2 separate regions of the Homo sapiens genome follow, and region 1 is linked to region 2. The links are contacts of gene promoters, found by promoter capture Hi-C in human tissues and cell types (Jung and others, 2019). All regions are on one chromosome and are shown on one strand. Each heading gives the region's core, a stretch centred on a gene start or on the middle of the fragment in contact. The rest is flanking DNA. Distances are from core to core; before and after follow the strand shown. Region 1 overlaps HTR2A (5-hydroxytryptamine receptor 2A). Region 2 holds the start of RB1 (RB transcriptional corepressor 1).

Evidence for each region. Contacts are between HindIII fragments. The study calls those that stand out against the background at their distance.
Region 1: a contact is called between a fragment that was not itself captured here and the fragment with the promoter of RB1 in region 2, in 1 of the 25 tissues and cell types used here (lymphoblastoid cells).

The regions. Positions count from the first base shown.
Region 1 is chr13:46,833,930-46,839,792 of GRCh38, reverse strand. HTR2A (5-hydroxytryptamine receptor 2A) reads left to right here. Exons shown (of 4, transcript NM_000621.5): 4 at 4,154-5,863. The coding sequence ends at 4,956. Among named protein-coding and RNA genes, the nearest start is that of HTR2A-AS1, 15 kb to the left of the region's middle. The HindIII fragment of the contact is 4,018 bases long and covers 1-3,632 here.
Region 2 is chr13:48,301,161-48,306,858 of GRCh38, reverse strand. RB1 (RB transcriptional corepressor 1) reads right to left here and starts at 3,108. Exons shown (of 27, transcript NM_000321.3): 1 at 2,810-3,108. The coding sequence starts at 2,946. RB1-DT (RB1 divergent transcript) reads left to right here and starts at 3,157. Exons shown (of 3, transcript NR_046414.2): 1 at 3,157-3,568; 2 at 4,367-4,520. RefSeq lists enhancers at 2,097-2,166, 2,407-2,456, 2,531-3,254, 3,255-3,980 and a silencer at 2,667-2,956. The HindIII fragment of the contact is 21,400 bases long and covers 1-5,698 here.

The sequences.
Region 1 (5,863 bases), core at 374-2,873, 1.5 Mb after region 2:
GAAAGACACCAACCAAAGCTTTTGTGTTCTTAGGTGTCAAGGTTTCCCATTCATTTTATTGTCTGAGTTTCAATGGAAATGAATAAAATGCTACATAGAGGATCTAATACTGATAGTGAATTTTGACTGCTGTTTTCCACTCTTCAGAAAAAATATATTAAACAAAATGCAGAGTCATGTAATTCAGGTTACTGTCTGTTTTGTTCATAAAGGAAAATGCTTTATATGCAGAAATTTCAAGTGAGAGGAGATGTCAGGTCTCCAAAAGCAGCTATTGTCAAACAAAGCAGCCAGATAATTAATGCCCTAGAGATGGCTGTGACCACGATATTGGATATCAGCCCATGTCTTCATCTCTCTTGGTAGAGGCACATGCTTTTGAGCTGCTGATTGTACCCACAAAGCCTATCTATGTGTTCTAAGTTTTTTGACATAAAATTTCCTCTCCTCTTTATAGAGTATTACTTTAACTTTCTGGTTATTCTTTCTACAACCCTTGCTGACCAGATACTATGAGTGAGGCATGGAAAAAGAATGGTATACGATAGTATTCAGGATGTTTTTGTTATATGTAAAGATGAATAGGCCATTTAAATAACTGATCAGCTTGATTCTCCACTTCCAAATTAATATCCCCCTTCCAGACAGAACAGCTCTGCGTGTAACCTCTTACCACATCCTCTTGTAGAGTGGCTTTTTATCCCGGGCATTTAAGAGAGGGATTCTCTATTTCAGTGCAGATGACTCCATCACCCCTCTCAGAAACTGGGCTATTCTGTAAGGGTGTGTGTGTGTGTGTGTGTGTGTGTGTGTGTATGTGTGTGTCCAACCAAAGACACTATTCCAAATAATTAAAGAATTTGGCATTTTAGGTAAGCCCACATTCTGGTTAATTGAGAATTGCCACTTATGTACATTACTAGGTTATAAGCAAATAGGGCAAAAGGCTCTCAAGGTAGTTACTTCCTTTGTATTAATTAGAAAAAGAACACTCAAGAGTTTAATAACAAAATCACACACCTTTTTTGGACGGTTGATATCTTGTTTCTGTGTATCATGACTAATAGTAATGCTGTAATTCATCACATTAGGAAAGTAATCAACAGTTCTAGCTGCACAAAATTAAAATTGATTAAGACCCGGCGTCACCCTGGCAGAAGCTAAAATTACATCAGTGTTAACTCTACGGCCAATAGCCAAAAGTCTTTTTAGTCTCTTTTGGTTTAAAAAGATCTGCTATATAAAATCTAGTGTATACAAACTAAGCAAAATGGATTAGAATAAAATAATGTTGATATATTTAATATAAATAGTTCTGCAGAGAAAGCTACTCTCATGTTTATTGACCACTGGTAGAACATCACTATGGACTGGGTGCTGTGCTAGGTGCTCTGCAAATTTGATCCATTTTATCCTCACCAAATGCATGAAGGTATGTTGGTGCCAGCCTCCCACGATAGATGAAGAAGTGGGGACTATAGGAATGAAGTAACCAATTCAGGAGCCCAGAGCCACAGCCAAGACTCAAATCCAGGGATGTCTCAAATGGTTGAACAAAGCATCCTTTCTAATCAATGAGCAACTGTGCTGTCTAAGAAGACCTTGTACATGAGTACAGGAAATATCTTTCACAGATCTAGATTCAAACACTGGGAGAAAAACACTCTTCTTAGAAATCATGCCCTTACTTTTACAATCAAGAGTTTTCCGAAGGATAAGCAAAACTGGTCAATATCCAGGGTCTCAGAGGATGTTCTCCTTGGAGGCACAGCTCATCAATCTCTTCTTGAATGTTGCAAACAATGGGCCAGGAACAGAGAGGGATGGAGGAAATGAAGAGTCATTAGCCACAATAAGTGTCCTTATGAACAGCTCTGATGTCATTTATCTCCACCTTCCAAGAATCCTGGATGGGCTTGCATAGGCAAGTGACAAATATTGTTAATTAAGTCTTTGAAGATAATGGCAAATGTCACTAAGAAAGATTTGTGTTGAATATTACATCAACTCAGCGTTCTTTCCTGGCCACGATGGCCAATGTGAGGTGACATGAGGTTAGGACAGTCATGCCTGTGCTTGGATGAAGCGGAACTCTGTTCTGAGTATGCAGAAGTTAGATTAGAGATTCTCCAAAAACCTTTTTCCAGATGGATGGCAAGAGTGAGGCAGTGGCCCCCAATTCTGGAATAAACCGGTGTTCTTGGCTGGTGTGAGACCATGTATTAGACTCTAAAGACGGTCAGAAGCAGTAACCACAACACTCTTTGTTCTACAATTCTGAGTGTGCTGATAATATGGGCAGGAGTTAGAAGGGAACTATTTTTCTGACTTTTTCTCCCAGGCTGTCCCTGCAATATCTACCATTTCATGAAAGAAACAATCTTAAACTAAGTTATACAGAGTACTTGATTCATGTTTCCTCTCTTTTTTATCATCCTGATTCTACCTTTATGGCAGAGAGAATAAGCCATCTCATGATTGCCTTGGACCAACCATCCCAGGCCAGTAGAGAAAGATACACCTATTTCCCCAGGAGCAGAGAGGTTGTCCATGGTGGGGGCTGGGTGGTGAAACTGCACAACATGGCCAGTTGAATCTTCCTTTAAAAAGGTCCTATCATCAAGTGGGGCACATAGCATGATTAGAGGCCAGGGGTTGCCTTTATTCACTTCTGCTTCCTCCTCTGCCTAATCCCTGTACCTGAGGGAGCCTTACAGATCCCCCAAATCTGGGTGATGGAGCAATGAACCATATAGGCCCATGTTCCCCTGTATTATCTCATCCTATACCTACTTTTTATATTTGTCAATAAAAAGTCTATGGCTGTCTTGTTTTTTGCAATCCATCCTTATGAATGCTCTACTACTAAAAACATAGAACAACCTTTATGGGACAATTGGAAATTTGAACACTAACTCTACATTTAATATTAAGGAAATATTAAACTTCTATTTAGGAGTGAGAATGGTATTGTGAAAATATTAGGTTTGTCTAAGAGTGCATGGCTTTTAGATCTACGTAATAAATATTTTCAGATTGAATGACATGATGTCTAGGATTTGCTTCATAATAACATGGGAGGGATGGCAGCCAGAGGACATATGGATGAAACAAGATTGGGCTTGAGCTGATAATCTTTGAAGCTGGGTGACGAGTTCACTGTACTGGGTTTGGTTTTTGGTTTGTTAGTTGTGTGTATGTTAAAAATGTCCCATAATAAAAGCTTTTTTAAAAAGAATTAAAATTGGTTATTTTAAATTAATATTAGAAAATTGTATTTCTCAAAAATATTTTATGTGCAATTATCATGATTTATAATGTTAAATGGAATAGGAAGATCTAAAACATATAAGGTACAAAGTACTGCATGTAAAGTACTGCATATACACATTTGCTTTTATATGTACATGTAAGTGGAAGAAGAAATGATGCAAATGTAAATTATGGTTGCCCCTGACTGGTGAGAATACATATTATTTTTCTTTATTCATTGTTACATTTTTGTACCTCCCAAATTTTCTAGAGAGAAAATAAACTATATTTAAAATTTTATAGTTATTTTTATATATAAGCCATGCTTGTGACATATTATTAGATTTTTTAAAAAAGATACAGAACTATTTGTGAAAAAGAACCTCAATTCTGTTTTAAAATGTGTGCACATGGTAAGTGTGTGAATGTATCTAAAATGAACAGCATCAAAAAAAGAAACAAATCTATATTCTAGATTTTCATAGACAAAAATAAATAAATATATAAATAAATAAAATGAACAGCATCAGTTGTTAATTGTGGCTATCTCTAGATGGTGACGTTATTGGACAATTTTTAGTTTATTTGCCTCTCTGTGTGTTTCTTCAATTAATAAGTATAATATTATAATCAGAAAAATGTGGCATAAAAAATAAAGCTAGATTTATTATACTTCTTTATAAGGGTTAGCTATATAGGGCAATATAACATACAAGTAACTACATAATATATACTTACAAAACACATATGTAAGTCCAAAGGAATTTTAAATTCTCAAAGTATGTTAAGCTTTTAAACGATGATATAAAATCTTTTCAATAGCCAATATTATGTGATGATGCTCTTGCCTTCATATACTTAATTCCTTAATAATCATGTTTCATTTTCTGTTCAACTCCAGGTATATCCATGCCAATACCAGTCTTTGGGCTACAGGACGATTCGAAGGTCTTTAAGGAGGGGAGTTGCTTACTCGCCGATGATAACTTTGTCCTGATCGGCTCTTTTGTGTCATTTTTCATTCCCTTAACCATCATGGTGATCACCTACTTTCTAACTATCAAGTCACTCCAGAAAGAAGCTACTTTGTGTGTAAGTGATCTTGGCACACGGGCCAAATTAGCTTCTTTCAGCTTCCTCCCTCAGAGTTCTTTGTCTTCAGAAAAGCTCTTCCAGCGGTCGATCCATAGGGAGCCAGGGTCCTACACAGGCAGGAGGACTATGCAGTCCATCAGCAATGAGCAAAAGGCATGCAAGGTGCTGGGCATCGTCTTCTTCCTGTTTGTGGTGATGTGGTGCCCTTTCTTCATCACAAACATCATGGCCGTCATCTGCAAAGAGTCCTGCAATGAGGATGTCATTGGGGCCCTGCTCAATGTGTTTGTTTGGATCGGTTATCTCTCTTCAGCAGTCAACCCACTAGTCTACACACTGTTCAACAAGACCTATAGGTCAGCCTTTTCACGGTATATTCAGTGTCAGTACAAGGAAAACAAAAAACCATTGCAGTTAATTTTAGTGAACACAATACCGGCTTTGGCCTACAAGTCTAGCCAACTTCAAATGGGACAAAAAAAGAATTCAAAGCAAGATGCCAAGACAACAGATAATGACTGCTCAATGGTTGCTCTAGGAAAGCAGCATTCTGAAGAGGCTTCTAAAGACAATAGCGACGGAGTGAATGAAAAGGTGAGCTGTGTGTGATAGGCTAGTTGCCGTGGCAACTGTGGAAGGCACACTGAGCAAGTTTTCACCTATCTGGAAAAAAAAAAATATGAGATTGGAAAAAATTAGACAAGTCTAGTGGAACCAACGATCATATCTGTATGCCTCATTTTATTCTGTCAATGAAAAGCGGGGTTCAATGCTACAAAATGTGTGCTTGGAAAATGTTCTGACAGCATTTCAGCTGTGAGCTTTCTGATACTTATTTATAACATTGTAAATGATATGTCTTTAAAATGATTCACTTTTATTGTATAATTATGAAGCCCTAAGTAAATCTAAATTAACTTCTATTTTCAAGTGGAAACCTTGCTGCTATGCTGTTCATTGATGACATGGGATTGAGTTGGTTACCTATTGCTGTAAATAAAAATAGCTATAAATAGTGAAAATTTTATTGAATATAATGGCCTCTTAAAAATTATCTTTAAAACTTACTATGGTATATATTTTGAAAGGAGAAAAAAAAAGCCACTAAGGTCAGTGTTATAAAATCTGTATTGCTAAGATAATTAAATGAAATACTTGACAACATTTTTCATTCCTGCTTTTTCATAGATACCATTTTGAAATATTCACAAGGTTGCTGGCATTTGCTGCATTTCAAGTTAATTCTCAGAAGTGAAAAAGACTTCAAATGTTATTCAATAACTATTGCTGCTTTCTCTTCTACTTCTTGTGCTTTACTCTGAATTTCCAGTGTGGTCTTGTTTAATATTTGTTCCTCTAGGTAAACTAGCAAAAGGATGATTTAACATTACCAAATGCCTTTCTAGCAATTGCTTCTCTAAAACAGCACTATCGAGGTATTTGGTAACTTGCTGTGAAATGACTGCATCATGCATGCACTCTTTTGAGCAGTAAATGTATATTGATGTAACTGTGT
Region 2 (5,698 bases), core at 1,859-4,358:
ATCTCTCTACCTACTAGCACATCTTACATGATGCGACTGCTTATTTTTGTCCTTTCCCCTTAACAAAGACAAGCATTTAATAAATTCTTGTTGGCTAATTCATTTTCATTCATCTAATTTCTATGTGTTATCTACTAATAAGAATAGTATGAAGAATAATTAATAATTTTTGAGTATTTACTATGATCCTGTAGAAAGTACCTTAAACATATGGTTTCACTGAATCCCGACATCAGCCCTTTTAGATAAGTATTCTCATCTGTAAAAGTAGACATTTACAGATGTCTGTCAAATTGGAGAAGTTAAAGAACTTACCTGAGGTCTCAGCCGGTAAGAGGTAAACCACTATGTGAGCCCAACAGTCTAACTCTATAATCCATGCCCTTGACCACTATTCTAGACTGCCAATTCCTCCTTCAAAACATAATTAGTTTTTGTTTTTTTTTCTTGTTTTGAAATAGGGTTTCACTCTGTCATCCAGGCTGGGGTGCAGTGGTGAAATCATGGCTCACTGCAGTCTCAAACTCCTGGGCTCAAGGGATCCTCCCACCTCAGCCTCCTGAGTAGATGAGCCTACAGGTGTGCCACAGCCACTGGCTAATTTTTTAAAATTTGTTTTAGAGACAGGGTCTTGTTTTGTTGCCCAGGCTCCTCTCAAACTCCTGGCCTCAAGCAATCTTCCCATCTTGGCCTCCCAAAGTGCTGGCATTACAGGCGTGAGCCAACATGCCTGGTCAGCTTTTTTGTTTTTTTAAAGACTGGGGTCTTGCTTTGTTGCCCAGGCTGGCCTCCAACTCCCAAGCTCATGTGATCCTCCTGCCTCAGCCTCCTGAGTAGCATGGACTACAGGTACGCGCCATCACACCCAGCTCGAAACATGATTAACCTTTGATTATTTCAACAATGAATGTGGTATGCTGTTCCTAGTGACAGTTTCCCTTCCAGCTACATTACTTAGGCCAGAGATAAGGCAACAGAAATAAGATCTAAACTCTCAAATCAGGAATGGAATCTGTCACTGGAGGTGCAGTTGGACTGAGCCTTGATTCCATCTCCAGGCAAGATGCTCAGTATCAGACTGCACGGCAGCGGTTCTACCCTTGCTGGTTAATTTATAGAGTTCAACTGTCTATGTTAATGAAACCCTTTGTGGGTATGGATAATCAAGAACAGACTGTATCTTGTATGGTTTTGACTTATAAGAGAATTTTTTATAGTTCCATTACTTAAAATATATAAAATGAGTTAAAAAATGAAAGAAACAGTCCTCTTTTTTCCAAGCAGTGGCCACAACGTCAATATTCCTGGTTACCCTACATTAGAGTATGCTTCCAAAGCTGTGTGCATAACATGGAATTCTTTAGAGTAGCCATTACTGCATTTTCCCAAGGGAAATTTGCAAGAATTGGATACATCAGAATTTAATCAGAAACTAAAGCCATGTCTTTTCCCAGAACATGCCCCAGACGTGGTTTTTAATTTTTTGTTGTTGTTATTTTGGTTTTTTAACGAATATGGTTTTTAACTGACCTATAAGACAGTCCATTTAAATATATAAATTTTTAATAGCCTTCCAGGGGCCATTTCCTAAATCCCACTTCAATCTTTTCTGCCGTGAATTGTTAGTGTATACCGAGTGGAAAGAAATGGGTGAGGGTGAAAGGATTTGGTGATAGACAAGAATGGGAGAGAAAATAGTGAAAAACAGAAACAAGTCCCATTCCCTCTGCAATGAACTTGTCTCAAAGTAGAACCAGTGCTGACAATAATGACAATTACACTCTTTCAATCATAGCTATTTAACCATAAAGTAGAAAAATCAAGAAAAGTAAGATGTTGTAATACAATAAATACTTCCCTTCAAGATCTAGTGCATTCGTATGGACTTGCTTAAATTTAGATTCCACTTAATAAGGGAAAACGAAAATTTCCATTTGCGCACAGAACCACTAATTTTGTGCCAAAAACAAAGGCAAAAAGAGGGGACACCAAGATCCTTGCTGGTTCAAAGTCAAAAGGCAAAATGGAAGAAATAATGAGACAAGCCGAAGCCGACTAACACGCAAGAAGAGTTCATCAAACAGGAAAAAAAAAAGTTTAGAAACTTTCAAGCACTTCTGGTAAATGTCTCATGAAAGTTTTGCCCATGTTTCAGTTCCTCTAAAGAGTTACGCTCCATCAATCACTACAGATGGCTTTGAGTCCCCAAGGCCTCGATGCATTATTGTTCTAAGGAAACGCCGCAAAGCTCCTGAGCCGAGTATCCTGTGGGCAATGGACACTCAGGACCCTGCGCTTCTTGTCCAAGGCTTTCTGGTCGGCCTCTCCCACAAATGGACTTCAGATGCAGTGCACGCCCGGAAGAAAATACTTCCCAACTGTTGCATCGCGTGAACCAAAACAGAAAGTCAGACGACCACCGGAGTACTCCAATTCTCCGGTGAAAAACTCTCCCACAGACACCATTTTTGTATTTTTATTTTTCATTTTTTGCGTCTGATGGACGCTCGCAACGACCCTCTGCCTCCGAGCCTCACAAGAGGGAACTGCACCTGTCACTTCGCTCAGGACCCTAGCCCCACCCGCCCGACACCTGTCAAGTTGAAGCCGAGACCCCTCGCCCAAGAACCCAGAATCCTGTCACCATTCTGCAGACGCTCCGCCGTGGCGGGGGGCAGGGAGGGCGCCTCCTCCCGCCGGGACCCGGCCCCTGGCGAGGACGGATCCCCGCCGAGCCGCCTTGGCGCCCGCCCTACGCACACCCGGGGCGCCCTTCCCGCGTGAGGCGACGGCGGCTCTGCTCGCTCACCTGACGAGAGGCAGGTCCTCCGGGCCGCTGTCCTGCTCTGGGTCCTCCTCAGGAGGGGGCGGCGGCGGCGGTGCCGGGGGTTCCGCGGCGGCAGCGGCGGCGGTGGCGGCCGTTTTTCGGGGGGTTTTGGGCGGCATGACGCCTTTCCGCGGCGGGAGCCAGCGAGCTGTGGAGGAGCGCCGGGGAGGACGACGCGCGCGCACGTCGGGGCACGCCCCGTCCTCTCCCGACTCCCGTTACAAAAATAATTTCAACGTCCCCTGAGAAAAACCGGACGCGCCCTCCCCCGCCCGGCAACTGAGCGCCGCGTCCAACCGCGGGAAAACGTCACTTCCGCCCGCGGCGTCACGTCCGCGAGGCTCCCGGGCCCGCCGGCGTCTGTGGGGAACTGGGGCGCTGGTCGGTGCGCGGGCTGGGACGCTAAGTCATGAGGAATTAAACTGGGAAACCTGGCGTGGGTCCAGGCGCCTTCCAGGAGGCATCCGGCGCGGCCCGGACGTGCTTCTACCCAGAACCACCCCCTCCAGGCCGGGGTGCACTTAACGGGGCTATACAAAGAGTCTGGTGGGTGACTGTGGGCCTCATCCCTATCCCGGGGTCTGATAGGGAAGACTCTCGGGCCCCGCAGGGAATATCTGGCTAGTGCACCCTCGGCGGGAGCGCCACTCTCCCTCCTTGGGCGGCGCCCCCCACCTCTCATCCCGCCCAATCCGTTTTGCAAAGTCGGCCAAAACAAAAACAAACTTGGAGCGCTGATAGGTGCGGAACTTTACCAGTCACTTAGAAGATAGAAAATGTTAGACACTTGCTGGCCTTTTGGGATCACTGGTTAGGGAAAGGAAGGGAGGGAGCTGTGGGGAATGAACGGATAGTAGTGTAATAAAGGATTGTAGTGGTGTAAGAACGGGAAGCACCGTGGAAACGTCTGAGGAAGATTTTCAGGGGAGCAGTAGCTGCTGAATAGAAGTCTGTCAGGCAGGCCTGACATTTACTATGTACCAGGAACTGTGCTGGCCACCTTACATAATTGTCTTATTTAATCCCCAGAAACAGCCTTTTTTTTCTTTTTCTTTCTTTCTTTTCTTTTTTTTTTTTTTTTTTTACTTTAAGTTCCGGGATACAAGTGCAGAACGTGTAGGTTTGTTACATAGGCATACGTATGCCATGGAGGTTTGCTGCACCTATCAACCCGTCATCTAGGTTTTAAGCCTTGCATGCATTAGCTAAGAAACAACGCTTTCCAATGGGTAGTATTAGCTAGTCTACGTTGCAGATGAGGAAACAGGCTCAGAGGAGTTAATTTGTCCAATACCAGGGCCGATGGGTAGCAGAGAATTTGAACTCAATTCTATTTGATTCCACTTGTCCATTATATTATGTTTGATGAAGAAAACAGTGACAGAGAAGGAGCATGTGCAAAGGCACAAAGACATCAGAAAAGAGCTTGCTGGGACTACCACCATCAAACATTGGCTTAAAGCTGTTATCACTTCTGTGTCTCGGTATTTGTACCAATAGATTATCTAGTTTGAATACATTTTTTTTTCTCTTTGGCAGACACTGTTATTGCCCATCTGAACTCGTCAACTGAGAAGGAAAGAGATGGTTTATGCTGTGAATAAAATACAGTTGTGCTGTGATGTAAATCCCCTCATCCTGGAGCAGCTGAGCAAGGTCTAAGGCAGGAAGAACCTTCAAGCAGGTCATGGCTGTAAGCCTCCTGAGTTTATCCCAGCAAGTTGTATAAGGGATTATCTTTTTATCTGCATATTATGACATATGTGAGGATGTGTAAAGGTTTGGCAAGCACTGGCCTACTCAACAGCCAGTCCTACCTAACTTCAGAAATCTTTCTTGTGGGCAAATGTCAGGAGATAGGGCCCAGGCCCAGGTCCAGCTACAAAGAATGAATACAATTAAAGTGCTACTTCCATTCACCTCACCCCAGATTAGTTTAGGCAAGAGCTCAGGATGCAGTTTTGACATTTGAAAGATAAGGAGTAGTCTGCTGGGAGCCTGATAAATTGAAACAGGGATGGCACAGTTCTAAATATTATTAAATAATAGTAATAATATTAAGTATTACTGAGGATGTGACACTTCTGATTGCTGCAGCCATTGTAACGTGAGGCAAGCCAACCTACAGAGAAGGTAGAAATGCTGATATTGGTGCAGGAGGAATTTCAAAAGAATCTGGATCCTCAGTGTTATAAATGAGCCTCTGATTTGGCCAGCCCTGGAGCTGACCTAAGCTGAGCTGAGGTTTTCACTTGTTTGCAACAGAAAGCATCATGACTGATAATGTTTCTCCTGTGCTTATCTTCAGGATAGAGACCAAATCTTGGGTATCATCATTGCCTTAGTACCTAGCACAGTGTTACACACACAGTAAATGCTTGCTTACTAAAAGTAGGGATGGCAGGAAAGTGAAGGAAAGTTCTAGGAACTGAAGTAAACTCTCTTCATACGTAGATATCACTTGCTTTATTTAAAACCAGTTTATCAACATCTAGATTACATTTATGTAATCTAGATTTATTTATTACCATATTACAATTATGATAAAGAGATTTCTCAATTTACAAAAGAATATATGTCTTGACCATGGATTAATTTAACTATGTTCACTAGTATGTAAAATATATTTTCCTGCAGCCATAAAAAGGAATGAGATCATGTCCTTTGCAGGAACATGGATGGAGCCAGAAGCCTTTATCCTCAGCAAACTAACGCAGGAACAGAAAACCAAACACTGCATGTTCTCACTTATAAGTGGGAGCTAAACAATGAGAACACATGGACATGAAGAGGGGAACAACACACACTGGGGGATTACTTGAGGGTGTAGGGTGAGAGGACAGAAGATCAAAAAACTACCTATCAGGTACT